Regions from separate parts of the Homo sapiens genome. Here all the other regions are linked to region 4. Evidence: promoter capture Hi-C in 16 types of primary human blood cells and fetal thymus (Javierre and others, 2016). All regions are on one chromosome and are shown on one strand. Each heading gives the region's core, a stretch centred on a gene start or on the middle of the fragment in contact. The rest is flanking DNA. Distances are from core to core; before and after follow the strand shown.

Region 1 (4,864 bases), core at 397-2,896, 610 kb after region 4:
CTGAAATATTGAAGTTTGTTATTAAATGGAGAGGACTATAGCTAAGGTTCTAATGCAAAAGTGTTTTGGTTTTTTATTGAATCATTACATGAATATCAAAACTTGTTCGTTTCTAATTCTTGTTTCCATCAGGTGAGATAGCATAAGTAATTGTCCACTTGGTACATAGCTTTTGCATTAGTTTGAAAGATATATTCATATGCATACATCTATACTGCTTTATTTTTTGTGCTGTTTTGCCAAGAATATTAACTAGAAAGCAGCCCAACAAGTATTGATAACACACTCCATTTTATAAAACCATGTGATCTCCAAGATCATAATGAACCCTAATAATAATGTAGGTTTTGGCAGAGCTCATTAGGGCTCAGCATATGTGTCCTTCTGCTTTGACAGGCTATATGTCTAAGTCAGATTTTTAAAGATGTTGCTATGTGAGGCATAATATAATTTACTGAATGTGGAGGCTTAGTTTTATTCTCTTGAATATTACTTTTTAATTCAGATAACAGATTAGAAGATGATGCCATATTTTAGACCTGATAACATTGTGATAGAACAAGTGAATACTTAAAGTAATATTTGCTATTGGGCTAACAACAAGATGCAAATCAGGGCTTGATACCAAGGACAGTAATAGAGACTGGGATAATTACTAACTTGGTTTCTACTTTAGGTAGTAGAACATGACACAGAGAATGGGAGTAAATGAAAGAAAAGCCTGTGAACACATTCATCCTCTGTTACTTCCCTTCCATTTTCACAGTGATTCCAGTTGAGACATTTATCTCCTCACTCTGGACCACTATATGTATTGCTTCTGGCTAGTTCCCTGTCTCCAGGTTCTTCTGCCTCGTTTTCCGGCTCCCATTTGCAAAGGAGGTTTATGTACAATGCTGCTTTAGGGGAAAGGGCACTGACTTCGTTATCATGCACACTTGGGTATAAATCCCACTCTGCCATTTACCGGGGGTATCTGGGTGAGTGGCATCACTTTTCAGGGCCTTGTTTATTTGTGAAATGGGAATGACAATACCTAAACTGCAGAGTTGTAACTATTAGAAAAAAATGTATGCAAAGGGTTTAGTGTGGGGCCTGGCCCTTAGTTGGTGCTCAATAAATATTCTTAGTTGTGGTAGAAGTAGTATTTCACTAAACACACACACACCCCCAGAACAAAACAATGATTCATCATTGCTCACAGGCAGAAGTCCAGATTCCTAAGCTTTCTGTTCTCTCTCCTAACCTACCATCCTATCCTTATTTTCCTTTTTTAAAAAATCATAAATTCTTTGCTTCCCACTTGCCATATGATGACTCTGTTCTTCCCTGCCTCACAGTGGAATGATTCATCTTCCCCGCTGGCCCTTCTCTGTCTGTCCAGCCGCACCCCTCCAATGGCATAGCAGTGGGAGCTTGGACTTTGCTGTCAGTCATACTTGAGTTTGAACCTAGGACTGCCACCAGCTGGCGACTTTAATAAACCTCTTCGAATCTTAACTATCTCATCAGTGAAACAACTTTTCACTTATAAAATGGAGTTTTAAAGTATCTCCTTTGTAGTTTGTTGTGGGGATTACATACAAAAATGTTTGGCCAGTGGTAAGTGTGCAGCACCAGGGTCCTGTTTGCATCTGCATCCTGCAAAGCCCTATCTGCTGCAGTCTCACCTCTCCCATGAGACCTTGTACCATCCTCAGATGAAGGGGCACCTTGCACTTCCAAAACTTTGTGTGTTTTGTGACCGATGCTGCTCACTTAATATGTATCATTTAGGGCTATCGTTTCATTCTGTTTTCATTTGTAAGCGTATATAAGACTCTTGAGGCTGAGAGTGAATTTTATAACCAGAGCTAACATTTCCTGAGTGCCAAACTCAGAACTAAATGTGTATATCGATTGATCTGATCCACCCTCTCACAGTCCAGTGAGATAGGCACTGTTGCTAACCCCAGGCTACAGGGGAGGCAGCTGAGGCACAGAGAGGTTGAGGATCTTGCCTGTTGTCACTGTCTGGCAGACTGTGGAATGGGAATTGGAACCCAGATTGGTCTGATTCCAAAGCTGCAAGCTTTGGCTTCACTGCTTTATGGCCTCTTATATTGTGGTCCCTACAACTGTGCCTTCTTCCTAACCAGAAGGTAGTAGATTGTTGCTCTTTGTAACTTGCTTATCCTCTGTTGGTCTATAAACCGTTTGATTTATTCAAGAATATTTGAAGTAGATCATTAGAATTCTGCCTGGAAATGGGACCATGTTTAAGTTTGCTTTAGAAACATCCCCAGCTCGGCCAGGCTAATCCCAGCAATTTGGGAGGCTGAGGTGGGCAGATCACTTGAGCTTGGGGGTTCAGGACTAGCCTGGGTGGCATGGCAAAACCCCATCTCTACAGAAAATACAAGGGCTGGCTGGGCATGGTGGCAGGTGCCTGTGGTCCCTGATATTCCGGGACCTAGGGCCAGAGAATCTCTTTGGCCCAGGAGGCAGAGGTTGCAGTAAGCCCAGTTTGTGCTGTTGCACTCCAGCCTGGGCGACAAGAGTGAGGCCCTGTCTCAAGAAAAAAAAAAGAAAAGAAAAAATTTAAAAAAGAGAAATATCCACAGCTTTGGAACAATGACCTGAAACAATGATCTATTAGAGATTTTAATTAAAAAAAATTATTTTAGTCAAAATTGTGACATGGCTCAAATAATCTAGTGCTGCAAATACAATTGAACTTGTTGGATTTGAAGAGACAGGTCTAACAGCCATGATTGGGCCTGGAGTGTCAGGTAAGCAAGTTCACATGAAGGCCTAGAGATGTGACTTTATATTCTTTAGTCCCTTGACCAGTTTGAATAAGAGAAATATGGAGGTAACTACAAAGAATCAAATCCATATTAAGTTGAGTGCTTGCTCTGTACCAGACACTTCATGTATATGTCATCCTATTGAATTCTCCCACCCTCAACACTGAGAAATAGGTCTTCTCATTTTACACTGAGAAATGGCTCTGCGAGGGGAAGAGATTTAATCAGAGTTACTCAATGGTACCATCCTACTGCTCATTGGATCCCACTTACTCTGTGCATTGGAAAGAGCGCAAAGTGAAAGCTTTTGACGGAAGCTTATAATGATCTTCATAAATGATTGCATTATTGCTCTTCTTATTAATAAATTATAGTCTTGTGATTTTTATTAAGATTTGTTTATTCTCTAAGTTGGGTGTAATTTATTCTTTCATATTTGTTAATTCATCAAAAACTCATTTTACATCTATAATGTGCCAGATGCAGGGGGTATAGCAGTGAACATGACAAAGTTTCTGCCGCCTCGAAGCTTACTTTCTGATGGGGGACGCCAACAGTGAATGGACAAGAAAATAAGATGACTATAGATTGTGATAAGTGCTAAGAAGAAAAATAATCACAGAGAAACTGGGTTGAATGGGGGTATGGAAGCCACCTTAGGCAAGATTTCCAGAGCAGCTCTCTAGGGAGATGGCATTTAAGCAGAAACCTGAAGGGTGTGAAGGGGAAGACAGGTGAAGATGTAGTGGCAGAGAAGAGGTTATGTGCAAAAGTGCCAGGGTGGGAAGAAACTTAATGTGCCTAAAATTCTGGTACAGATAGCCAGAGAAAGACCAAGGTCATTGTAATTCTCATCCAGGTCATTAATGCCTCATGGGTTTTGGTACCATATGCCCTAGATTTCCCAGGACAGTCACAAATATTCCATTCAGTTATTGTTGTGGATACTTGTTCTTGTGACATCATGAATCTAATTTTTAATTCAGAAATATGAGTCCAGGCTCACTCCTGTCATCCCAGCACTTTGGGAGGCTGAGGTGGGAGGATCGTTTGAGCCTGGGAGTTAAGGACCAGCCTGGGCAGCATAGGGAGACCCCATTGCTACAAAAAATTAAAAAATTTAGCCAGGCATGGTGGCGTGTGCCTATGGTCTCAGCTACTTGGGAGCCTGGAAGGTCAAGACTGCAATGTGCTGTGATCACACCATTGCACTCCAGCCTGGGTGACAGGGCAAGACCCTGTCAAAAAAAATATATATATATATGACTGTGTTTTGTTTTGGAAAATGTGGTTGCCACATAATGGGTCACTGCTTGAAAACATTGCGCTGAACTATACTATCTTATAAAGAATTGTATCAGTCCCACCAACCCCATCAATCAGTCATTTGGATGACACTGTGATAGGTGAAAAACTGTTCACATGGCAGCAGCCCTAATTAGGCAACACTATCCTGCAGCCTCTCCTATCCTCAAGGTGTGGATCTGAACACCTTTTTGAAGCACTGTGAAATTGTTTTCCACAACAGCCACACCATTTTAGCATCCCACCAGCAATGTATGAGAGATCCAATTCCTCCACATCGTCAAGATTTACTACTGTCTGTCTTTTTTTTACTATTGCCAGGCTGCTGGGTGTGAAATGATATCTCATTGTGGTTTTAATTTTCATTTCCTTCATGACTAATGATATTGATGATCTTTTCATAAACTTACTAGCCATTTGTATATCTTCTTTGGATAAATGTCTATTCAAATCTATTACCCATTTTTAATCAGTTTGTCTTTTTATTGTTGAGTTCTAAGAGTTTTTTTACATATTCTGGGTATGAGTCCCTTATATATTATTTGCAGACTTTTTTCCCATTCAGTGAGTTGTCCTATTCACTGTCTTGGTGGTACCCTTGGAAGTACAAAAGTTTTTCATTTTGATGATGTCCAATTTATTAATTTTTTCTTTTTTATGCTTTTGATGTCATATCTAGGCAACCATCACCTAATCCAAGGTCATCAAGATTTACTCCTATGTTTTCTTCTAAGAGTTTTATAGTTTTAGCTCTTACATTTAGGTAGATG
Region 2 (4,248 bases), core at 294-2,793, 540 kb after region 4:
CTCCAGCCCCTTCTGGAAGGAGCAGTGCTATGCTTTTCTTTCCTCTCCCAGTCCTCAGACAGACTGAGCAGTCCTTAGATATCTCCCAGCTTAATGGTGGTCTTTGCAGAAAATGTATTTTTCTAGTATAAAATGACCCCATCAAGAGGATGTGGTGCATTCCATTAAGATGTCCCGGGGATCCTCTTTTTCATACAGATCAAGGAAAAATTACTGCAGTTGACGGAAAAGAGGAAAGAAATGATCGACAAGTGGGAAGACCGATGGGAATGGTTAAGACTGAGTAAGGATGTAGTTTATCTTTCTGCTCTTTTGGGTATCAATGGAAAACATGCACGTTTATTTTCTTGCTTTAATTCATTAATGTTATCATTTAAAGATTGTTCGAGTTGTAGATGCCTTTTTAGTGCCCCGTTTCACCATTTCATGGTAAATACTACTTTTAAGAAGCTTCCTATGGCGTAGTCATTTTTCACCTCTTGATTGATCTCAGTGTCATAGGTGGGATTTGGATGTTCTTTAGGGATGACAGAGGGCACCTCCCTGGGAGAATACAGATAGAAGCCCTCTCCCCCATTTGTCTTCAAGAATTCTTACTACAGAATCAAGTTGGAAAGTTGATCTCATTAAGTCATATTTGGTGCTCTTAGTGGAATGTTGATAACATAATAAAAACTAACATCTATTAAAATTTTGCTGTGAATGAGGCATTGTTCTAAGTGGTTTTTTAATGTATTTCTGTGTTTATTCCCCAAAGTGACCCTGTGAATTAGATTCTATTTTTAATTCTCATTTTATAAGGGAATATGTGAGCTAATACAGGGTTTATAATGTACAGTATTAGGAATAGCATTTCATAATTGGTATGAGCACTAACAGCGCAATTCTAGCATTGCTTACCATGCTTTGCCATTCTCTGTTGGAGTTCTGGGCTCTGTCCTTATGTTCTAACTCCATCTATGCATGTTATGGGGGTTTACTAGAAACCAAATGCAAGGGCCTTTTCTGAGAGGTTTGACGGCACACTCTGTTGGGCCCAGAGCCCTCAGAAATCCCACTTTTTGACCATTCTTTGCAGGAGGATTTGGTCTGTATGTTTTGAGAATTGTGGGGCAGTTTCATTCAGCTCAGCAAAACCCACATTACACACTGAACCGGGCACCAGCTTGTACACCAGGGACACAGTGATATGCACAGTCCCTGCCTTGAAAAGCCAGTAAGTCCCTAGTGCAGAGGTGGCATCTTCTTCATGTAGTCATGTTGGGGGCTACCGAGGTGCTGAAAGCAGATAGCTAGCCAGCTCCTTGGGACACCAACGCTGCCCACAGTCCATTTTTTACCTCAATGATCCCAGGCTTTGCTGCATGAAATGAAGTGAAAATCAGTGTTAACTATAGCAGAAAGCCTGGTTCTAACCTACCTTCTCATAACTATGTTGGAACTAGTGTTCCATTTCCTCACAGGTGGAAGAACAGAATGAAACAGAGCAAAAGCCTTGGTCCCCACCATCTGTAGTGTTCCCATATCCTTCCCTCCCTCTAAACCCCCCAAAATAAAACACACAACTACCGCCCAAAAGAGGGCGAGTTAAGAATGCCTGCCCATCTGGCTACGTGTAGATTGTGAATTCCTGCAGGTCTCTGAAGGCTTAGCTCATGAAGTGGGGCCGAGTGAACAGAGCGTTCACTGTAGACCTGCGCTGAGCAGTATGATAGCTGCTTTCCCACGTGTGGCTCTTGAGAACTTGAAATGTCTCAAATTGAGATGGGCAGTGAATGTGTGCCGTAAAATGCACATCAGATTTAGATTTAGAAGAAAAAAGATTGTAACAGATCTCAATAGTTTTTTTCATATTGATTACATGTTGTAATAATTTTATACATATTATGTGAAATACACTATTAAAGTTAATTTCACCTATTTATTTTTACTCTTTTTAATGTGGCTACTGGAAAAGTCAAAGTTGCAAGTGTGGCTCACATTACATTTACATTGGACAGGGCTAATTTAGAGTAGACGATAGACTGGTTATGCAGGTAGCCATCACCAGAGGGCAGCAGTGCCAAGAGGTAAGGCCATATGACTGCCCGGCACCTCCTGGTCAACGTGTACTAACTCATGGTACCCTGTGCAGTTCTGGAGGTCCATCAGTTCTCAAGAGACGCCAGTGTGGCCGAGGCCTGGCTGCTTGGACAGGAGCCGTACCTATCCAGCCGAGAGATAGGCCAGAGCGTGGACGAGGTGGAGAAGCTCATCAAGCGCCACGAGGCATTTGAAAAGTCTGCAGCAACCTGGGATGAGAGGTTCTCTGCCCTGGAAAGGCTGACTACAGTAAGTGGCCGCTGGGCCCTTTGTCTGTTGGTGCCCTGGGCAGCCTTTTCTTCCTGCTTGCCTCTTAGACCAGGGAATTCACACGATTGCTTGTTTTTGTTTTTTGGGTTTTTTTCAAGTAGTGAAGATCATCTTAAAATGGGTGGCTCCTGTGGAGCAGGACCTAGGGAGAGGGTCAGGACTGTTACCTCCTCAGTCACATCCTGGGCACCTGGATTTATGATCCCTTATAGTAGCTTCCTGCCTGGGGGTTGATTGGTGGTGTTTGCTTTTTTCTTCGAATCTTTCATTCTCCCCTATCTCATAAAAGCTTTGTTCTCAAGGGGGCATGGCCTCAAAATTTTCTTCAGAATTTCAGAATTAGAATTCCCATCAAATGGAAGCTTAATCCTAGCCTGTTGTTAAGTCCCCAGTCCTGATCCCCTCTTCTGTCAACATAAAGGCCTTAGAATAGGATTTGTGCACTGGTGTTTCCTCTCCCAAGACTTTTGCATTCCTGGTAGAAAGCTGATCCTTTGCAGTGTACAAAAATGGTGTTTCTGGTTTCCAGTTCTGGGTGTTTAAAATGTACCTGCATACATTTGTGTTAAAACAGAGTACTTCTGGTACATCCATATGACTCATGAAATGGCTTTGTTTCAGTTAGACTATTCTGTGGCTTTTTAATGTGTTGTTTGGGTTTTGGCTGAACACAGATCCCCACCACAGCACAAGCGGCTTCCTTGAGAATTATTGCAGCTCTGTCCCTGGTGTTTGTCTGAGCTCTCCTGGGGAGTCCAGCATGAACCCTCAGGCTCAGGTACTTTTCTCCTCAGCAGAGTTGAGAGTTGCATAGTTACTTTAGAAATTAAACCCAAGCTCCCAGGGGTCCTACAAACAACTCACAGGAATTTTGCCAGCCCATGGAATAGACTATTTCCTGTAGTTTTAGGTTGTAGCTGCAGTTCCTGTGAACCTAATTCCATTTGGCTCAGGATGTTAGAGCTTCTTGTCCAGTGTGGTCCAGTTTAGCAAACTAGACAGGAGGACTTCCTGGGTTCCTAGAACCTTTTTCTGAAAAGAGGCAGAGTTTGGGACTCTACCAAACATCACTCTATTTTCTCTTAGTTGGAGTTACTGGAAGTGCGCAGACAGCAAGAGGAAGAGGAGAGGAAGAGGCGGCCGCCTTCTCCCGAGCCGAGCACGAAGGTTTCAGAGGAAGCCGAGTCCCAGCAGCAGTGGTGAGTCCCAGCAGCTCCAGAGGCTGGACCCTTAGCCTCGGTGGCCAATGAGGTTTATGGGGCATCTTTCTGAAGCCTTGCATTGCTAGGCCTAACCACATGCCCTGCCTACTGATTGCTTCCATAGACTGTTTAAAGGCTGTACAGTTATCCCTAAATAACCTTGGAGGGCACTGATTTGTCCACAGTCACATAGGTATGTAGGTGGCAGAAGTAGAATGTAGACAGTGCCCTTTCTCATCCTGTGTGCACACACACAGGATGCTCAGAACTTCCATATGATTAAATGCATGGAGTGAACTGCCCAGATTTTAGGCCAGTGATTTTGTGGTGATGCGTTTTTTGAGAGTTCTAAGTAACTTCACACAGAGGGCAGCAATTATTCTCTACTTCCAAAGGGCTAATTATTTTGCTATGGTAAGAGTTCCATGGCAACCTCTAATGCTGCCTTTATGTGGTGGAGCGGGGCATAGGGCATTCCTGTAGTCGTATTTTTCTGTCTAGAGTCTATTTAAAACACTTGGAAGTTTCAGATTTAAAAAGAATTAAATTATGTGAAAAGGTTGCACGTAATAAAATTGAGTGATGATGTTCTCCCACCCTTTCTTACTGTTTCCTCTTTCTCCTCTTCTTCCTTTCCCTTCCTCCTTTTCCCCTCTTCCCTAACAGGGATACTTCAAAAGGAGAACAAGTTTCC
Region 3 (4,578 bases), core at 1,216-3,715, 560 kb after region 4:
CAGTGTTCCTGTTCCTCAAGTTTTGTTTTTTTTCGGAGGAAACAGTCGCTCAAGGTTTTAATCTTCCATCTTAGGGGAATGTCCACAGCCCTAATTAAAATGGCCGTGGCCGGGCTTGGTGGCTCACGCCTGTAATCCCAACACTTTGGGAGGCCGATGCGGGCGGATCACAAGGTCAGCAGTCTGAGACCAGCCTGGCCAATATGGCGAAACCCCATCTCTACTAAAAATACAACAAAATTAGCTGGGCGTGGTGGCGGGCACCTGTACTCCCAGCTTCTCCGGAGGCTGAGGCAGGAGAATTGCTTGATCTTGGGAGGCGGAGGTTGCAGTGAGCCGAGATCACACCACTGCACTCCAGCCTGGGCGACAGAGTGAGACTCCATCTCAAAAATAATAATAATAATGGCTGTAAGGAGCGTGCGTTTCTGAGCCAGTGCTCGCAGGCGTGCATACGGGGCCTTCTCCTAGCTGCCATCTGTTACACGGGTCTGTCATCTCCCCACTTGGATTTGAGGACTCTTGTCTTTCCTGGGGACACATGATTGGATTACTTCATCCAGCTTGCTCAGCCTCTGCTCTTCTGAGGAAAGAAGGTAGGCTCTGAAGCCAGATTGAATGGTGGCTCCTTCACCTCCCAGCCCCGTGACAAGTAAAAAAAGACTCCCTTATCCCCTCTGCAAAGCACCCACCACGCACCAGCCATGCTGGGAAGCAGCCCTTGTGGCGCTTACAAATGTGAGACTCCTCTTCGTCTGCTTCATCTGAGCCTTGGCCTCTAGAGGAGATTAAATGAACTGATGAACGCCACACTCCATAAATCGGTTCCTTTTCTCCCATGGTAGTCTGTCAGGCAGGAGCCTCTTTTATTTTAAAGCATATTTGCTCCTGTGTTCAAGGCTGCCCCTGACTGCAGGTGTTGATAACCCCCCACCCCACCCCCGCAACACCACCTCCGTGTTTTCCCTCCGAGGTGCTTCAGTTGGGGCATACCTGGCTTCAGAGAGCAAATGTAGGTTAACAAGCAGGAAGGACCTCTAGGGGTCTAGTTCCCCTTGCTACCACCTCCCGAGCTCCCTTCTCCACCAGGCATTGGGGGGTTACTTCAGACACTGGCACAGCTCATCAGCAACAGGAGCTGATATGGGAATGCAGTAAATTTACAAATTAACCAAAAGTCAGCCTAAGAAAGTATTTTCTTTTGAAATAAGGCCCTCCAAAAGGCGCTACTTCTGTTTCTTTGAGGAGTCAGAACATCATTTGGCTGGGAAACAATCTGTGTGGTGCACACTGTCCCTGCTGCCTGGCCCCGTGGCGGGGTTGCAGCTCCCTCATCGCTCAGCACCCTATTATTTACAAAGTCTCCAGCTCTGACAGGGGGTAAAATTACCCAGAGAACTGATGACCCAAAAGCCAAGGGTGTCCCATGTGCCTGAGAGCTTCGCTGTAGATAGGAGGGTGACTGGGCTGGGGACACTGAGCCCGGGTCCCGGGGAAGCCATTTACTCGGGCATGAGGGTTTAAAGGAAGAGGGTGCCACTGGTGTTTGGAAAAGGTGAGAAGGCAGAATGTCTGGCTTTCCTCAGGTGGGGAAAAAATTTCAATTCCATAGGAGAAAAGTTTGCGAAGATGAACCCATCCTTATGTTCTCTTTTCACCTGTGACACACGATTTCCATCATTTCTCTATCACAGTTGCCTCAGGAAGCGGGGAAGGAGGGGGAGCAGCGCTGTAGCTGGAACATAACCTGATGGCCCCCTCGTGTCTCAGATCATCGGGCACCAGTACTAGTGGCGGCTGTCCTTGTAGCACTTGGCGCAGAACGAAGAGGAATACCATTTCTGCTCTGGCTCTGACACAGCCAGCATTTGGCCAGGCGCCTACTGTATGCGTCAGTCAGGTGCTGCCCTTAGCACTTTCCCCATGTTAACTCGTTCCAACCTTCACAATGACCCTGTGAGGTAGAGACTTATTAGTGAGGTGTTGTTAGACCCACAACCTGAACTGTCAGCCCAGAGAAAAGAAGACTGAGCTAAGCCAGAGCTGGTAGAACCAAGACCACAGTGCTCTGAAGCTTTAACACGGTCTGGCTGACCCCAGGACTGACCTTCCCCCTGCCTCATCTCCATTCAGCTGCCTTGATATCTTGAGCTGAGAAGGAGGTGTGTGTTCAGGATCTCAGTGGCATCCTGCGCTGTGTAACAAGTGGATGTGTGAGTGTGAACACACTGCATAGGAAAAGGGAGAGAAGCCAGGAGCTCACGCTGGATCTGAACCTGTCAGGACAACTGATTGAAAAAAATCAGTCAGTGATTTAGGTATGGGACTCTGAACCACTGGTTTTGTTTCCACCATTTGTTTTCCTCCAAATGGAATGATTTCATCTTGCTAATATTAATAGGTAACCAACTATAAGGTTGTCCAGGCAGTGTGCTAAGTTTTCAAGTTGCGTTCTCATCAAATCCTTGCAGCAATTCTACCAGGCAATGTCTTCATTGTACAAAGAAGAAAACAGAGGCTTAAAGAGTTAAGTACTTGTACAAATCGCAGCTGGATATTTGAATTCTGACACATCTCTCCAGAGGCCACACTCTCAGACTACACTAACTGTCCCCCACCTAGATTCTTTTCCTGCACTTCTCTGTGGGCTGAGGAATGATGGTCATGGAACCAGTGCCAGCTGAGAGGGCATCTCATGTGTGTAAGCTGTTGCCCCAGTCGTGGGCTTTCAGAGAAAGGACTGGATACCCAGTGTCATGTCCACTCAACAGCCATGCAAGGCTGGGTTCTTGAAGCCACAGCTCTTCACTGACTCCTTGAGCATCCATGTGACTCTAGAGTTTAGCTATGCAAGTGCAAGCTTTGCTCTCAAATACATGTGCAATGTAATTAGAGGATAGCTGATGCCTGATTCACTGGCCTTACAAATCTGTAGCTGCCTGGATTTCAACTGTCAATACATGCTGAAGTCCTTTTCGGATCAAATTTAAGTTCAGATAAAGAGTGTGTGGTGGGGACACAATAAATATTTGGAAGGAAGAAAAGATGGAAGGAAAGAAGTAAGGAAGGAGGAAAGGTAGGGCAGAAGGACCCTCCAAACAGCTGGGTACTCTGTAGCCTCAGAAGGTTGGCAAGATAAATCACAGCTCAGCATAAAGCCTATGTCGGTGTCTGGTGTTTAAAAAGTGGGGAGGAGAGGCTCAGCCCACAGCCTCTGTGGACAGGTTTTCTTTCATCTGCTTTCTAGCCAAAGGATGTGAAGACAAGCTACAGGAACTGATGGGCTGCAGCTGAGATAGGTCAGATTTTCACTCTAGCCCCCTGAACTGGCCACAGGGCCCCTTCGTTCCCTGACTTCCATCATTGCTCTTTCCTGTGATGTCTGACCTCCCCTGTGTCACTGCATCTGACTCTTGCTGCCTCCTCAGCACCTGCGGCCCCATCTCCTCCAAGTTCTGAACTGCACAGGCATCTTCTGAGGTACAGCCATGTTTGGGTGCCCAGCCGGCTCTTCCTGCAGGTCTTCCTGCTCTCCTGATGTCCCTCAGCTCACAACCTCTCTTTTCTAGCAGAGCATAGAAAGACAGGAGCTGACTTCTGGATGCCTGGTCATCATTTCCTTCTTTAGTTCCATTTTACAAGCCCAGGTGCTGTATGAAAAACAGGGCATGCTAACCCTGTCTTCCATCCACTAGGGCGGAGCTGACGGTTAAAACAAGGCTCTTTCCCATGCCAGCAATTAGACCTCCATTTCTCAGAAGAGGAAAGAGGGGAAGCGTGAACAGACAGAAGGGCTCATTTTCTGTTTGTCAAAGGAATAAATGGATTAAGGATCCTTGCATTTCAAGATGCATTTCAAGATTTCAGAGATGGAGTCTTGATAAGACAGTGAGAACTGACTGAGAGGGAGCTGCACCCAATCACGGGGCCACGCACCCAGGGACAGTTGCACCTATATGGATTGTTTCCCAGCCAAATGATGTTCTGACCATTAACTCAGGCATCTGGGATTCCCCAAAGAAACAGATGAGTAGCATCACTTGGGGGACTTTATTTTTAAAAATAAAAATTCAGTTCCTTAAATAGGCATTTGGTGACCTCATGTTTTTTTAGTGAAACATGTTGGTAAGAGATGCAATATTTTGAACAGGAAAGACAGTATGATAAAAGCATTCTTGGGCCAGGTGTGGTAGCTCACACCTGTAATCCCAACAGTTTGGGAGGCCAAGGCGGACAGACCACTTGAGGTCAGCAGTTCAAGACCAGCCTGGCCAAAATGGCACAACACCATCTCTACTTAAAAAAAAAATTAGCTAGGCCTGGTGGTGCACGCCTGTAATACCAGCTACTTGGGTGGCTGAGGCACGAGAATCACTTGAACTTGGGAGGTGGAGGTTGCAGTGAGCTGAGATCATGCCCATGTACTCCTGCCTGGGCAACAGAGAGAGACTCTGTCTCAAAAAAAAAAAAAGCATTCTTCCTTTTTTTTTTAACTCTAACAACCCACTGGCCCACATGCCTCAAATCCTACATAGTTAAACATCACAAGTACCTATTCTGCATACAATTTTTACTTAC
Region 4 (4,452 bases), core at 121-2,620:
TATCAATAGCTGTATCCAGATCCTTTGGAGTGGTGGATGGTTTTATATTAAAACTTGGTAATAGCTCACCAGGAAATAAAATTCAGCCTTAACCTTCTAGGCAATTGGGATGTTGCTGAGAATAATCAAGACAATCAAAAAAAAAAAAAAAAAAAAAGGTCGGGTGTGGTGGCTCACACCTGTAATCCCAGCACTTTGGGAGGCCGAGGCAGGTGGATCACCTGAGGTCAGGAGTTTGAGACTAGCCTGGACAACATGGTGAAACCCCGTCTCCACTAAAAATACAAAAATTAGCTGGGTGAGGTGGCGCATGCCTGTAATCCCAGCTACTTGGAAGGCTGAGGCAGGACAATTTCTTGAACCTGGGAGGTGGAGGCTGCTGTGAGCTGAGATTGCACTACTGCACTCCAGTCTGGGAGACAAGAGCGAAACTCCGTCTCAAAACAACAGCAACAAACCCACACCAAAAAAACTGTATGAACAGCAGACAAGATGACTACAGTGTTTTTCTTTTGTCTGTTTCCACTAGCATAAAAGACTTCATATTTTTAAAAAGTTTCTTATCCCAGAAAATATCACAATCCGTTTAGAATACGAGTTCAGGCTCAATTCCTTCCTGACTGTACAGAAGAGCTCAAGATGTTGCAGACCTTATCTTAAAAGCTGGCTTGGTAGTCACCTAAACATTTCATAAATAATTTACTAACTCTCAAAACACTAAACACGCAGGCCCTTGATTTCAAAAGCCAATCTTGCTGGGATGGAGTGGGGTGGGGGACCTGGGATGGGGGATGAAAGGGGTTGGAAATGGGGAGATATTGGTCAAAGGGTACAAAGTTTCAGTTAGTGTGAATAATAAGTTCTGAAGATCTGTTGTCTAACATGGTGACTGCGATAAATGTATTGTGTCCTTAAAAATTGATGAGAGTAGATCTTAAATGTTCTCTTCATTAAAAAATGGTGCAATGGATACGTTAATTTCATTGATGTAATCATTTCACAATGCATACATATGTCAAAACATCACCTTGTACACCACAAATATACCCAACTTTTATTTGTCAATTACACTTTAATAAAGCTGGGGGAAGCCACTCTTTTTTTGGGCACAGCATCCGGCTTTTATTTACTAACTTTGAGAACAGAGTACCTTGATCAATTAAATGGTAGGGAGCGCTGTGGAGACAGCATCCTCCCCAGTCCGGGAAGAGAGGCCTAGGATGCCTGGGGCCCAGCGGCCTCTTCCCTCCTGGCGTCCCCGGCTGCCCTCGCTCCCAGGCCCCGCAGTCTCATTTGCCGCTTCCGACGCGTGACCCCGGCGCGCTAGCGTCCGGGACCGGTGACAGGCGCGGGGTGCGCCAAGCAGTCCCATGTGTCCCCTCCCTCTCGCAGCCGCCGCAGTCGCTGCGCCCCGAGCCCCTCTCCGGCTCCTCAACAGAGGGCTCGCCGCCGCCATGTCTACCGCCCAGTCACTCAAATCCGTGGACTACGAGGTGTTCGGAAGAGTGCAGGGTAGGAGGCCCCTCTACGGTGGGAGATCAAAAAGGTTATGGGAGGAAGGGGAGAAAGCTGTGAGAAGCGCCTCCCACCTAAAGTATGCCTTTTCCCGTTGTGGCTGGGACTTCCGCTCCGCCATGACACAGCAGCGGCGGCGGGGAGGGAGGCGAAACGCGCATGCGCCCGAGGACTTGGACGGGCGGAAGTACGGGAATGGGGAGGGAAGTGGGGGAGCGGGAGAGGAGGGGTCAGGGGACTGCTGAGGACCAGAAGTGGGCGGCTGCTGGGTGCGGGAGTAAGCGGCACGGGGGAATGTTGAAGTTGGGTAGGAAAAGAAGAGGGTCTTTTAACTAGTGGTCTCGTTGCTTGCCACTGAAGCTACCTGGGCTTGACTTGAGTTTTAGGAAGGACACTTAGATGGTTTAAGGTTAATTTTTCAGAGGTCAAACCTTTTTTTAGACCTCTTTGTAGCTCTTAAAAGAATGAAATTGTTATCTAATTTTTGTTTCATCCTAAGTTTAAGTAGTTGCCAAGTTTGTAATGTCTGGCTTGTTGAAAATATTGATATTTATAAATGAAAATATTAAGTCACTCTGAGATTTATGCAATGGAATATAAATAGGGTAGTGATTTAACATCCACCATCTTCATTTAAAATAAAACTCTTCAACAATGGGAAATTTTACTCATTTCTTTTCCTCTTTGAATTTGATTTTCATTTCACTTTTCCCACCGAATTACCCCATTGTTTTGCTTGAGGGTTTTTTTTTTTTTTTTGCTCACCCTATCATACTTTTCTGCAATATGTATATGTACATATATGCACATGTATGAATAAGTGTAATGCTTTTTCTTAATTTCCTTTGACAATAAGGCTCTCTTAGAAACAAATGCTGGTTCTTTGGTGCCAAAAAGAAGAACTAGCGCTCAAAGAATTTTCTCAGCAAGGCAATTTTACCTCTATAGAAGGGTGCGACTCGCGGATGAAGCAATGGCAACGGCACACCTGAACAGGGGAGGGGAAGGGGTTCTTATTCCTGATGCAGGTAGCCTCTACTGCTGTGTCTTTCCCCTACTGGCTAGGGTTGGACCGCACAGTCTAAGCTAATTCCGACTGGCTATTTTAAAGAGCAGGCGTACGAGCTCAAGTGGCGGGGTGAATAATTTGGCAGGAAGGGTGGTTACAGAACAGGTGACTCAGGATGATTCAGGTCAGAGCAGGTGACCAGGGGTGACTCAGGATGGAGCAGGTGACCAGAGGAATAGAGGTGAACTACTGATTAGAACTGGTGGAAAAGGTTGTTTACTGAAACTAGAGGCGAGGAGAACGAGGAAGCTAGACTTTAGAGCGCAAAGAACCGAGCATACTGACATACTGATTCTTTGAAGAGAAATTTAGAACTCATTGTATTCAACAGCTCCAAGTATTAAATTTTTTGTCTGGATGGAGTTATTATTGAAATTATTATTAGAACACTAGATGAAAATATAAAAAGTATGATAAACATTATTAAAATTTAAAGGTAAATTTGTGTTAGAAGTTTATTTTTTTAATTTTATTTTTTTAAGAGATGGAGTCTTGCTCTGTCACCCAGACTGGAGCAAGTGCAATGGCACAATCATAGCTCACTGCAGCCTGGAACTCCTGGGCTCAAGTGATCTTCTGCCTCAGCCTTCTAAGCAGCTGGGACTACAGGCTCATGCCACCATGCATGACTAATTTTTAAAATTTTTTTGTAGAGAAAGGGTCTCTGTTGCCCAGGCAAGTCTCGAAATCCTGGCTTCAAGGGATCCTCCTGCACTTCGCCTCCCAAAGTGATGGGATTACAGGCGTGAGCCACTGCACTCAGCCAGAAATTTATTAATGAGAAGACTGGGGGTGTTTATGGAACCTCGGTTGGTGGAAGAGTTGAATTATCCTTGTATTTGGTACTCTAGAGGTTTTTACACTTTGGTGCAGTGTACCAGGGTAAGATTAAGAATGGGTAAAAGTGTGCCTTTTGTAAAGAGATCTTTTTTTAATTTAATTTTATTTTTATTTCCTATAGGTCTTTGGAGAACAGGTGGTGTTTGATTACATGAATAAGTTCATTACTGGTGATTTCTGAGATTTTGGTGCATCCATCACCCAAGCAGTTTACACTGTACCCAATGTGTAGCCTTTTGTCCCTCACCCCGTCCTACCCTTTCCCCCCTGACTCCCCAGAATCCATTGTATCATTCTTTTATGCCTTTGCATCCTTATAGCTTAGCTCCCACTTAGAAGTGAGAACATAGAATGTTTAGTTTTCCATTCATGAGTTACTTCACTTAGGATAACAGGAGACCTTTCTTTCAAAGGATGATTGTGCAAAGGGAGGTAGGAAAGGAGTCTCAGGTCAGTTTTAGGAAGGAATATATGTGGAAGTTGAAGATCTGGAAATTGATTCCCTGAACATTATGCATGGATCTGTACTCTTTAGAAAGTCTTTGAGTGAACCCAGCGGTATGTTATCCTGCTTTGAAAACTGCCACAATAAGTCACCAAAACACGTAATGTAAAATACGAAAGTGGTGGCAAAGATCACCTGACAGAATGGTCCACTAGAGACAAATGGCAGTAGTGAAGGAGTCTGTGTGTGTGTGTGAATGTGTGACATTTATTATGGGTGTTCTTTGTGCTGAGCATTTCACTGTTGTTTACTTAATCATCACAATTTTGTGAGATGCATGTCTTATTCCTGTTTTAACAAGGACAAAACAGGTGCACAGAGATTCAGTAACTTGGACAAGCCCTTAGTTGACAAATGGGATTTGATTCTACATCTCTCTGACTTTAAAAGTTGTGCTTTCCCATTATAAGATGTTATCTGCTATTACATTATATATTTCTATTAACTATACAATTCCACTTTTGTGCACATAGTGGTAACACGGTATATAATCAATTTGGACCAGCAGTAAAAATATGGAAAA
Region 5 (4,413 bases), core at 1-2,500, 520 kb after region 4:
CCTGTGAGTGGGAAGAGACTGTCCTCAGCCTGCCCCAGGGGATGTGAACAGGGAGGGAGGGAGCTCCTGACCAAGAGGGAAATTCCAGCCACAGCACAGTTCATGGGGAGCAAGGAACAGTATCCAGCTTCATAAAGCAAGACCCTGTCTCACACCGGAAAACAGGCTCAGAAGTTACCCAGCTGTTTCACTCAGGCACCTGGGGTTCTTGACTATTCACAGAAACCAGAACACCCGCATCTGCTTCATGTGATGAGGGAGCTTTTTTGAGTCTTATTACAGGGAGAGAAAGTGAGAGATGGAAAAGCACTCTTTAAGACTGTGGAAACTACTCCCTAGTTTTAAAAGGTCCTTCTCAGGCCCTTCCCTGTAATTGAATCCGTGATCCAACATGGAGAGAATTTCCTGAGTTTCACTTCCCACGAATGATGTCCGTTGCACTAGTAAACCATTAAGCCACACTCACTTCTTTTAAGCGTCTTCTGAGTCAGCGGCAGTCCCAGATGCCTGTGTGGCTGTGTTTCACACCACACGAAGGCCGTTGTCACACCTGCGCATAGATCGGTGTCATTTGGACATGTGACTCTAAATCCTTGCCTCTTTCTTCCCATCTTGATGGTCCCACTATAGGAGAAAGGCTGCCTGGGCCGGTAACTGCCGGGCATGCATGAGAGTTGATTATATAAGAAATACATTCAGGATTCTGTATGGTCATATTTCTCCCTTAATGAATCTTTCCAGTGTTTGAAGTTACTTTCATTTCTGTTATTTCCGTGAGAGGCGAGGATGTGTGTCCTGTTGTTAATTTCCAGTATCTGGGATTCTTCCCTGCCACTGTAGGACTTCAATGAGATGCCATGCCAAAGGGAATGGAATCCTTTATCCCTTTGACTACTGGCAGGACTCCTGCATTTGTCACTAAACTCCAACTCATATTATCTCCTTTCTAAAGATTTGCGTTCTTGAACTCCCCTAGAAATAGAACTGGAATTTGAGGGAAGGGAATTTCCTTTTGACATTCCTAACCCATCCACATTCTTAGATGACTAATTCTTTTTAGCCCAAATTCACTAACAATCTTTTATTTTTTTAAATTTAATTTTGGTTTCTGATGATAGATGGCAATGGCATAAAATGTCTCTGGCCTTTATTATTTTTTGTTGTTGTAAAAGCAGTAAATGTCTGACATTTTCAAGGGGAAAACTACTGCCCTTAATCCCATCTGTAGCATATGCCATTTAAGTGTTTGCTTTCTAACCCATGCCTTGGAGTTTTATATCATTTAATATGTATAAACTATTTTCATTTAGCATTATAGTATAATTATTTTTCTACGTTTGCATTTTGCCTATGTGGTATAAGCATATTAAGATCCCTTTTCCTGATGCTATGGAACTCCTTTCAACTTAAAAAAATTAAAAAGGCATTATTTGTGTCTAACATATGCCTAATGATATTTTTATTTACAATAATTGTATGTAATACTGTAATTTACATAATATAAATTATATATGATGTTATAACATGTAAATATGTATAATTTCTACTGTTCTGTAGCCACTGGTACCTGCAGGAGCTATAGGGGCAGAGGGCTTTTCCCTTTGATTCTCCAGGCAGACAATGGCTATGACACTGCATTGTCAGCAGCCACTGAGGGCCCGTGTGGTGCATGCATCTCTACTCTAAGATCTTTCTTTCTCCTGGGGAAGTTTCTTCAGACACCGGTCAGCAGCACGTGTTCACCAAGCTGCTCTTACTCAGCGTGTTGGAGAATCCAAGGCTATGTGTTCTTCCTCATCCCTGCCTCAGGGTTTGGTGGATAGAGGAGAGACCTTGTGCAGGCACAGGCAGAGAGAAATTGCTCTAAGAATCGAATGAAAACCCAGCTCTCCTCAGTTGCACTCTGCCTTTATCCATCTTAATACCCTGAATATAGACTGGCTTTCTTGTTTAGGCAACTCAGGAGTATCAAGGAAGTGTATGTGTGGCAGTGCTTTTGAATCCTCAGTGGGTCCTCCCCTATTGGAAATGAAGCTCTCCGCTATTGTAGTGGAGCCACTGGAAGGCAATCCTTTGCTAGGCATTCACGCTGCTATTTCTCAGTTTCCAGTCTCTAAGCCACTGGGTGCATGAAGGAAGTTTGCCAAAGAGTGCTGGCACCTTCACAGCAGATGGGGAAGGAGCCAAGTAGGGAGCGAGCACCCCCTTTACCTTAGCGTTTACCAAATTCAGCAGCTCTTTCCAGTTCTTACAAGTTATTTATTTAAGGTTTTGTGTTTTAACTTCTTTGAGCTTTAGTTACCCTTATCAATTGATTAAAAGTGGGATTGAGTTAGTATATAGTCTTACAGGTCTAAAAATTTTCATTCCTTTTTGTTGTATTTTTGGTGAGTTTTTTTCAAGATGAGAAACTCTTTATCAGGAAACATTTGTTTAAAGCCAGTTACATGATTATATATATTTTCTTAGCCTTGTATGTGTCACCCAGTTATGAGCTTCTTGAAAATAAGTTTCCACTTCTCCCCCGGTGCCTAAAATAAGGACTTGTACAAAGCGTGTGCTCATATTTTTTTCTTAACACCAGATTAGGAAGCAACAAATTTGTATAGATCATTTGACAGTATGTTCGGCCTGTTGTGTGGTTTGGGCAGATTTTTGGGTCTCTCTGGGACCATGGCTTACTCCTTTGGAGGATGCTAAAATCTCTTTATCTTGTCTCCTTCACATTATTGAGAACTGCAAGCAAACTCTTTTTAGCATAGTTAGGAATTCAGGAAATAAATTGATTTGTATTCTGTATTTCAAGATTCTCTACTTCCTTTTTTAAAAATTATTTTTGTTACCATTCTAATAGACATAGGAAGAATCGTGAGACAGCCAGTGAACTTTTGATGAGGTTGAAGGACAACAGGGATCTACAGAAATTCCTGCAAGATTGTCAAGAGGTATGTTACTCTTTAATCCCTCTATTCCTGTGTTCCAGTAATAGCAATTGCCAGCCAGCATTTAGCACAAGAGCCTTTTGAATTATAAAATTAATGAAACCAGAAATCCATAGCACCCATTTGACTCGCAGGCAGGGATACGTGGCACTTCATCAGTTCTCCAGCCTACAAGGTACAGCTTAATTAGATCATTATAATCTAGACTATTATATTAATAGTATAGTACTGCACTGTTCATTACAGTAGACACCAGCCACAATGTCTTTATGGTTGGTTGGCTATTTCATTTTAAATTAACTATAATTACATAAAACTAAGAGCGTGGTTCTTCCATCACTAGCTGTATTTTAAGTGCTCAGTAGCCAACTTTGACTAGTGGCTACCATGTTGGACAACACAGATATAGAACATTTCTGTCGTCAAAGGAAGTTGTATTGGATATTGATGTCCTAGAATATTGTGCAACCTAGAAGTATTTAGTGTCATGCTTTCACTCTTTAAAGCAATGTACATTTCAATGATATGGAAGGAAAGAACTAAAGGGAACTGAAACTGGCTACCAAGTAAGAAGCAGAGATTTTCAAAAGACAAATTAGTTTCTTATTCGCTTAAGACCTTCATCTATCCATCTTTCAGGCTGTTCCCATGTGTATCTAACATGCAAAGAGCAGTAATGCTGATTCCAAGCACCAAGTTTTAATGTGGCATTAATCTGATGATCATTGTACTATTTCATGCTCTTCTGATACATGCACAAACTTTGAAAACTAAAGTTGGCCAGAAAAAAGTAGTTTCTCTGCACGCTAGTTGGAGAATAGTATCTAGCTGATTTCACGTGTGAGTTCGTGAGCACACCATATTTCTCTGTCTGCCGGAGAATAACAGACTCAGCCCTCTCTGGTTTATTAAAATAAAAATCCTCAGGCAAAAATGGGGTGAGGAATATCCACAAAAAGCTGCAGGAACCTTGATGGGGCTAAGAGTATGGGGGTAGAATCAGGTCATACGCTGGGAATACAACTTCAATCATCACAGACACCCTGCATGCAAATGTGTGACTGTGCATTAAAAGAAATACGGCTCCAGTGACAGCTGCGTTAGATCACGTATGACAGAAGCAATCCTTTGCATCCGTTAAACTGCTGTCTTACTGTAAATCTTGTAATATGCTCTTGCAGCAAAACCTTAAGAAGGAAAGCCCCTAAACTATGAAGCTTAGGGTCTGTCAACTTTAAGCACCACATTGATGAATCTAGGTCTCTGGGGGATTTGCCCGGAGCCAGACAGGCTGAAGACAGGAGTGCCTCTTCTAAGTGACACGCAAGCATTAGTAACCCATTTGAGTAGGATACTCACTTACAGAGGCATTCATGTGCCAAGACAGGGCATAGAAGAGAGTAATGGGATCTAAAGTTAGCTATGTGGAGTTGCCTAGTGTGCTGCGGTAATACCAGTTGCCATTTTTCAC
Region 6 (4,306 bases), core at 299-2,798, 890 kb after region 4:
AGCCCTGATACGACTTTTCACCTACTTTTAAGGCCTGTATTTATTGTATTATTATCATTTGTATCATTTTCACTTAGCAAAAGCTACCATATATCAATTCATCAATCTGTAACGTCAACGGCTAACAGGATGAAGAAATAAAAATCCTTCTCTTTAAATTCACATGTAAAGAAATCCTAAAGGCAAAACCCAAAGCTGTATTGTTTTCTATTATTTTTTAAGTTGCAACCATAAAATCTTACCAATGTCTCAATATGGTCTCAATCTTAAATTCACCTTTTCCCCACATCTTTATTGAACAAATTTTTAAAAAGACATTGTAAAAGTTACTGTAATTAGCTCTACATACTTTTAGAAATATTGTTGCCAATCCTGCTAGAAGGAAATAATTTTTTTTAATTATAAAACTTGAATGTAGCCAGGAAAAAAATTGCTTACGTAGAATGTCTATTTTGGACTACTTAAAAATAGCTCTAATAATTTAAAGGTAATTTATTATAAGTGGTCAGATATACAGCCTACCACTTTCTTTTAAAGAAAAAAAGGTAGATTTAACCATCTACATAATAAAATATTCTTTAAATATTCTAGTCAACATTTTACCATTTACAGGCTTAAATTCTTACACAATGATCCACTGAGATTTGAAAGGATCTGGGCTTTCAAGGGGGAGGAAAAGGGATCAAAATCACTGATTGGTTATTACAAGGACAAAGGTTAGTGACTTAAATATAGACATGCATTTAAAATTACTGCGTAATTATACTGTGTAATTTGAATGATTTCAAGATGCACATAATCTGATTAAAAGAAAGTTGGTAATAATTTTAAAGGTTCAAATCAGATTTTCAAAGAAGAGGCTTACTGCAAACACAATATCTTGCTACCTACAAACCTTTGCACAGAATTTCAACTACACCAAGTAAGGTTTTTTAAAATAGTCACGGAAAATATGTCACTGTGAAACACAAAAACAGCAATGTGTATTTACCACATCCAAGTGACGAACAAATGAAATCTGTTAGATCTATATTGTTTACAATGTGCAAGATTAGAGAACAGAACCTAAACGGCAGGACTGAAAAGACTAAACCGAATGCCAGTGAAACAGAACAGCATGACATTTTCTGGTATACAACCAAATGTAAAAACACGTGAGATAGCCGTTTTAATCCTTTAGACTTCAACTCTTCAGAGGTTTCACTTTCAATCCAAAATATCTAAATTCCAAAGCTTATTCATAGAAATATATTAGTGGTCACATATAAAAACTGAATAAGAAATTAAAAAGCAGATATACCCTTGTCCTTCCAATTTTTCTTCTGACCGTCCATCTCTTGTCACGATCTGCTTTGCAGCTCCAATTATTAATTATGCATACCAACAGAAAAGCTGTAACTGCACAAACCTACTCCCTGAGACATGAAATACCCGTTTCCTCAACCGAAGTCTGCAGTCTCCTCTGCTGCACAACTGCAGCAGGACTGAAGTCACCTGACGTCTTCTGGGTGTGGAACAGTCTGACGCAGTGCAATCTGTAACTAGGCTACTAATACTCCAGCATTAATGCTTTCCTTCTATCTGTTGATTGTTTTAGGCATTTGCCTTGTTGCTCATACCAAATGGAGCTGCATTTGCAGGGAGAGGGCAGGCTACCAAAAGAAAGGAAATAAGGGTTGTTCTTAGAACTAACCACTGAATGTATCTGAAATGCAATTAAAGCCATATGCAGTTTTTTTTTCTTTCTTTTTTTAACAGATGGTCGAATTATGCTACTGGTTTTCAGTTTCATTTAAAACTCTAAAATTAATGGTTACCTAATAAGATAAAAATGGACTGATCAAATATTAATAGCCTAAATTTCAAGCTTGTGAAATGATGAGTCTCCTTAATTGCTCCTAAGTTCATTAAGACGTAAAACATTCAGCATTTTGCACCTTATGAAGAGATAAACAGAAAATAAAAGTCAAATTACTAATGTTTATTGAACATATTATTTGAACAGAAAACTTTAGCAACTTAATCTTCCTAATATCTTTTTTCCTCTTTTACAATTATGGAAATCCAGAGACTTACAAACATACACTTACTCTTAATCATCATCTGCTCCAACTCAATCTTTGAATATTTATTAGACACCTCTACAGACAGTATTAATAGATTCTTAGCTTGGGGAGATATATTCATGGGCTAATGATATAATCTGCCATGGGAAAATGACATAAAAGCAAACTATAATTTTATTTTATTTTTTATTTTTTTCTGACACAGGGTCTCGCTCTGTCACCAAGGCTGGAGTGCAGTGGTGCAATCATTGGTCACATGGCAACCTCAACCTCCCAGGCTCAAGAGATCCTCCCATCTCAGTCACCACAGGCATGTGCCACCATGCCCAGTTAATTTTTTATTTTTACACTTTTTTTAGAGATGAGGTCTCCCTGTGTTGTCCAAGCTGGTCACAAACTCCTGGGCTCAAGCAATTCTCCCACCTCAGCCTCCTAAAGTGCGGGGATTACAGGTATGAGCCACCACACCTGGCCTAAAATTTTACTGAAAAATATAAAAACAAATCTATGTACAGCATTTTTAAAATCTGTGTTCAACTTTATAAAACTGATTTTCATTCCAATGCAGTGTCTCTACTTATGTTCCACAATCAATTCACCTGATACTTATATCTGCCTAAGCAGAAAAGGCACTAACAAATCAGCTAAAATATTTTAAAATGCAATTTGCGAAAATACTATAAGATACGTAGCCTATGTACAAAAATACATACTTAAGACTGTATAGCTAAAATGAAATAGAGATAATATTTTCTGGAACCTGCTATCTGTGGGCTGCAAAATCCTTAATATCAGAAGTGGCTTGATATTAATATATACTCCTATTATGTACCCAAAAAAACTAAAAACAAAACATGTAAGACTTAAACATAGAAAGAACTAAAATTAGGAAAATGAGAGGGGAAAAAGGAAGTGGCTTGAATATCAATGACACATTTATTTCCCTATCTGCCTCTCTAACTCCAAACATAAATAAAGAAAAGTAATTTTTAAAAGAGCCCAGTATTCTCAGCTCGAGTTAATATTTAACTTTAAACTTTATTCACTGAACCCCTGCATAATGTGATATTTGAGAACCCGGTCAGCAAGCCATATCATGGCCTGAAAATGTCTGGCCTCTCCACGCAACATTCAGAATCTCAAACTATTTAGTAAATACAAAATACTGACTTTCTAATAACAAGTCCCTTAAAACTGAAAGCCAATAAATAACGAGCATTAGAATAAAACACTCAACTATAGTACTCAAACACTATTTTCAAGTCAGAGATTACTTCACTAGTAGAAGAAAAAAGTTTTACTGTGATCAAGTTACTCGGCACTTAAGACTACTTGTATCTTCCGTGGTACTTGATTTGGCTTAACAATTAAAGAAAAAAGTCTGAGAGGGGCAAGAATGTGTAATAAGACATACCCACTCATCTAAACATTAAACATACTTAATAGCACCCCTGACAGATTAAAAAGTCAAAATAGGAGCCCTGAAGTTTAGTAAACATTTCAGCCTACATAGTGACATCTACTTCTTTAATTTTTATGGTCTTTGTAAGTGTACAAGGAAAACTAGCTTGTGGAAATCAACTGACATTTTGCCCAGTTCTTTCTCACAAAGTTTTTCAACTAGACTTGTTTTAAGTTTGGCAAGTTAAGCAAAAAAGTGCTTAAATCTGAAAAACTGATATGACACAAATTTGTTAAAGATGTAAAGCCAGATGGGCTATGTTTATTATGAAAATCATATAATCTCTACTAAAAATAGAAGGCTTTAGGACATTGCCTGACAAAAAGTAGGCACTATGTAAGTGCTATTTACTTATCAGTATGCTAAAAATAACAATCAAACTAAGAAGCAACAAGACAAGTAAGGCACATCTAAGAAAGCTCATATATTAAGTCCTTCAACTCTAGGCAATAACCCAATCTTTCTAAACAGAATTGCCCCCTCTCATACACAAACTATTGTCGTTGCTGTATAGTTCTATTATTTTCCAGCTGAGAAAAATGTACATCTGCATAGTTTATAGGTCCTATTCCACAATGAACCCCAACTTAACAAGTCAAATAAAGAAAGGACATAAATCTGTTAAAAACTTATCTTCATTTATTTTGTTTTCCTTCAACTACCTAACTTTTAAAAAAATTAATTCTTTTGAGGACAATTTTCAAGTAGAGCACATGTCTCAACTTGCAGAATGGCATTTTGACTATTTGAGACAGGAACCTCTTTTCCCATAAAAGCA

Evidence for each region. Contacts are between HindIII fragments. The CHiCAGO score rates a contact against its expected background, and 5 or more counts as called.
Region 1: a contact is called between a fragment that was not itself captured here and the fragment with the promoter of ACYP2 in region 4, in 3 of 17 cell types (endothelial precursors, fetal thymus and activated CD4 T cells). The highest score is 6.8, in endothelial precursors.
Region 2: a contact is called between a fragment that was not itself captured here and the fragment with the promoter of ACYP2 in region 4, in 6 of 17 cell types (megakaryocytes, endothelial precursors, total B cells and 3 more). The highest score is 7.3, in megakaryocytes.
Region 3: a fragment that was not itself captured here is called in contact with the fragment with the promoter of ACYP2 in region 4 in 1 of 17 cell types (endothelial precursors); the score reaches 7.9 in endothelial precursors.
Region 5: a contact is called between a fragment that was not itself captured here and the fragment with the promoter of ACYP2 in region 4, in 2 of 17 cell types (naive B cells and total B cells). The highest score is 7.8, in naive B cells.
Region 6: a contact is called between a fragment that was not itself captured here and the fragment with the promoter of ACYP2 in region 4, in 1 of 17 cell types (fetal thymus). The highest score is 5.2, in fetal thymus.

Annotation. Positions count from the first base shown.
Region 1 is chr2:54,727,583-54,732,446 of GRCh38, forward strand. All of the region lies in intron 2 of EML6 (EMAP like 6), which reads left to right. Among named protein-coding and RNA genes, the nearest start is that of EML6, 6.4 kb to the left of the region's middle. The HindIII fragment of the contact is 846 bases long and covers 1,224-2,069 here.
Region 2 is chr2:54,655,716-54,659,963 of GRCh38, forward strand. SPTBN1 (spectrin beta, non-erythrocytic 1) reads left to right here. Exons shown (of 36, transcript NM_003128.3): 29 at 199-283; 30 at 2,135-2,331; 31 at 3,439-3,551; 32 at 4,221-4,248. Among named protein-coding and RNA genes, the nearest start is that of SPTBN1-AS2, 22 kb to the right of the region's middle. The HindIII fragment of the contact is 2,191 bases long and covers 449-2,639 here.
Region 3 is chr2:54,674,040-54,678,617 of GRCh38, forward strand. The region is part of intron 1 of SPTBN1-AS2 (SPTBN1 antisense RNA 2); the gene reads right to left. LOC105374653 (a long non-coding RNA gene) reads left to right here and starts at 343. Exons shown (of 3, transcript XR_940104.2): 1 at 343-596. The HindIII fragment of the contact is 786 bases long and covers 2,073-2,858 here.
Region 4 is chr2:54,114,245-54,118,696 of GRCh38, forward strand. ACYP2 (acylphosphatase 2) reads left to right here and starts at 1,371. Exons shown (of 4, transcript NM_138448.4): 1 at 1,371-1,512. The coding sequence starts at 1,455. RefSeq lists silencers at 1,200-1,269, 1,760-1,819. The HindIII fragment of the contact is 9,756 bases long and covers 1-4,452 here.
Region 5 is chr2:54,634,859-54,639,271 of GRCh38, forward strand. SPTBN1 (spectrin beta, non-erythrocytic 1) reads left to right here. Exons shown (of 36, transcript NM_003128.3): 18 at 2,855-2,945. Among named protein-coding and RNA genes, the nearest start is that of SPTBN1-AS2, 43 kb to the right of the region's middle. RefSeq lists enhancers at 1-98, 339-398. The HindIII fragment of the contact is 5,814 bases long and covers 1-4,157 here.
Region 6 is chr2:55,008,787-55,013,092 of GRCh38, forward strand. All of the region lies in intron 3 of RTN4 (reticulon 4), which reads right to left. Among named protein-coding and RNA genes, the nearest start is that of RTN4, 40 kb to the right of the region's middle. RefSeq lists a silencer at 2,293-2,352. The HindIII fragment of the contact is 634 bases long and covers 1,232-1,865 here.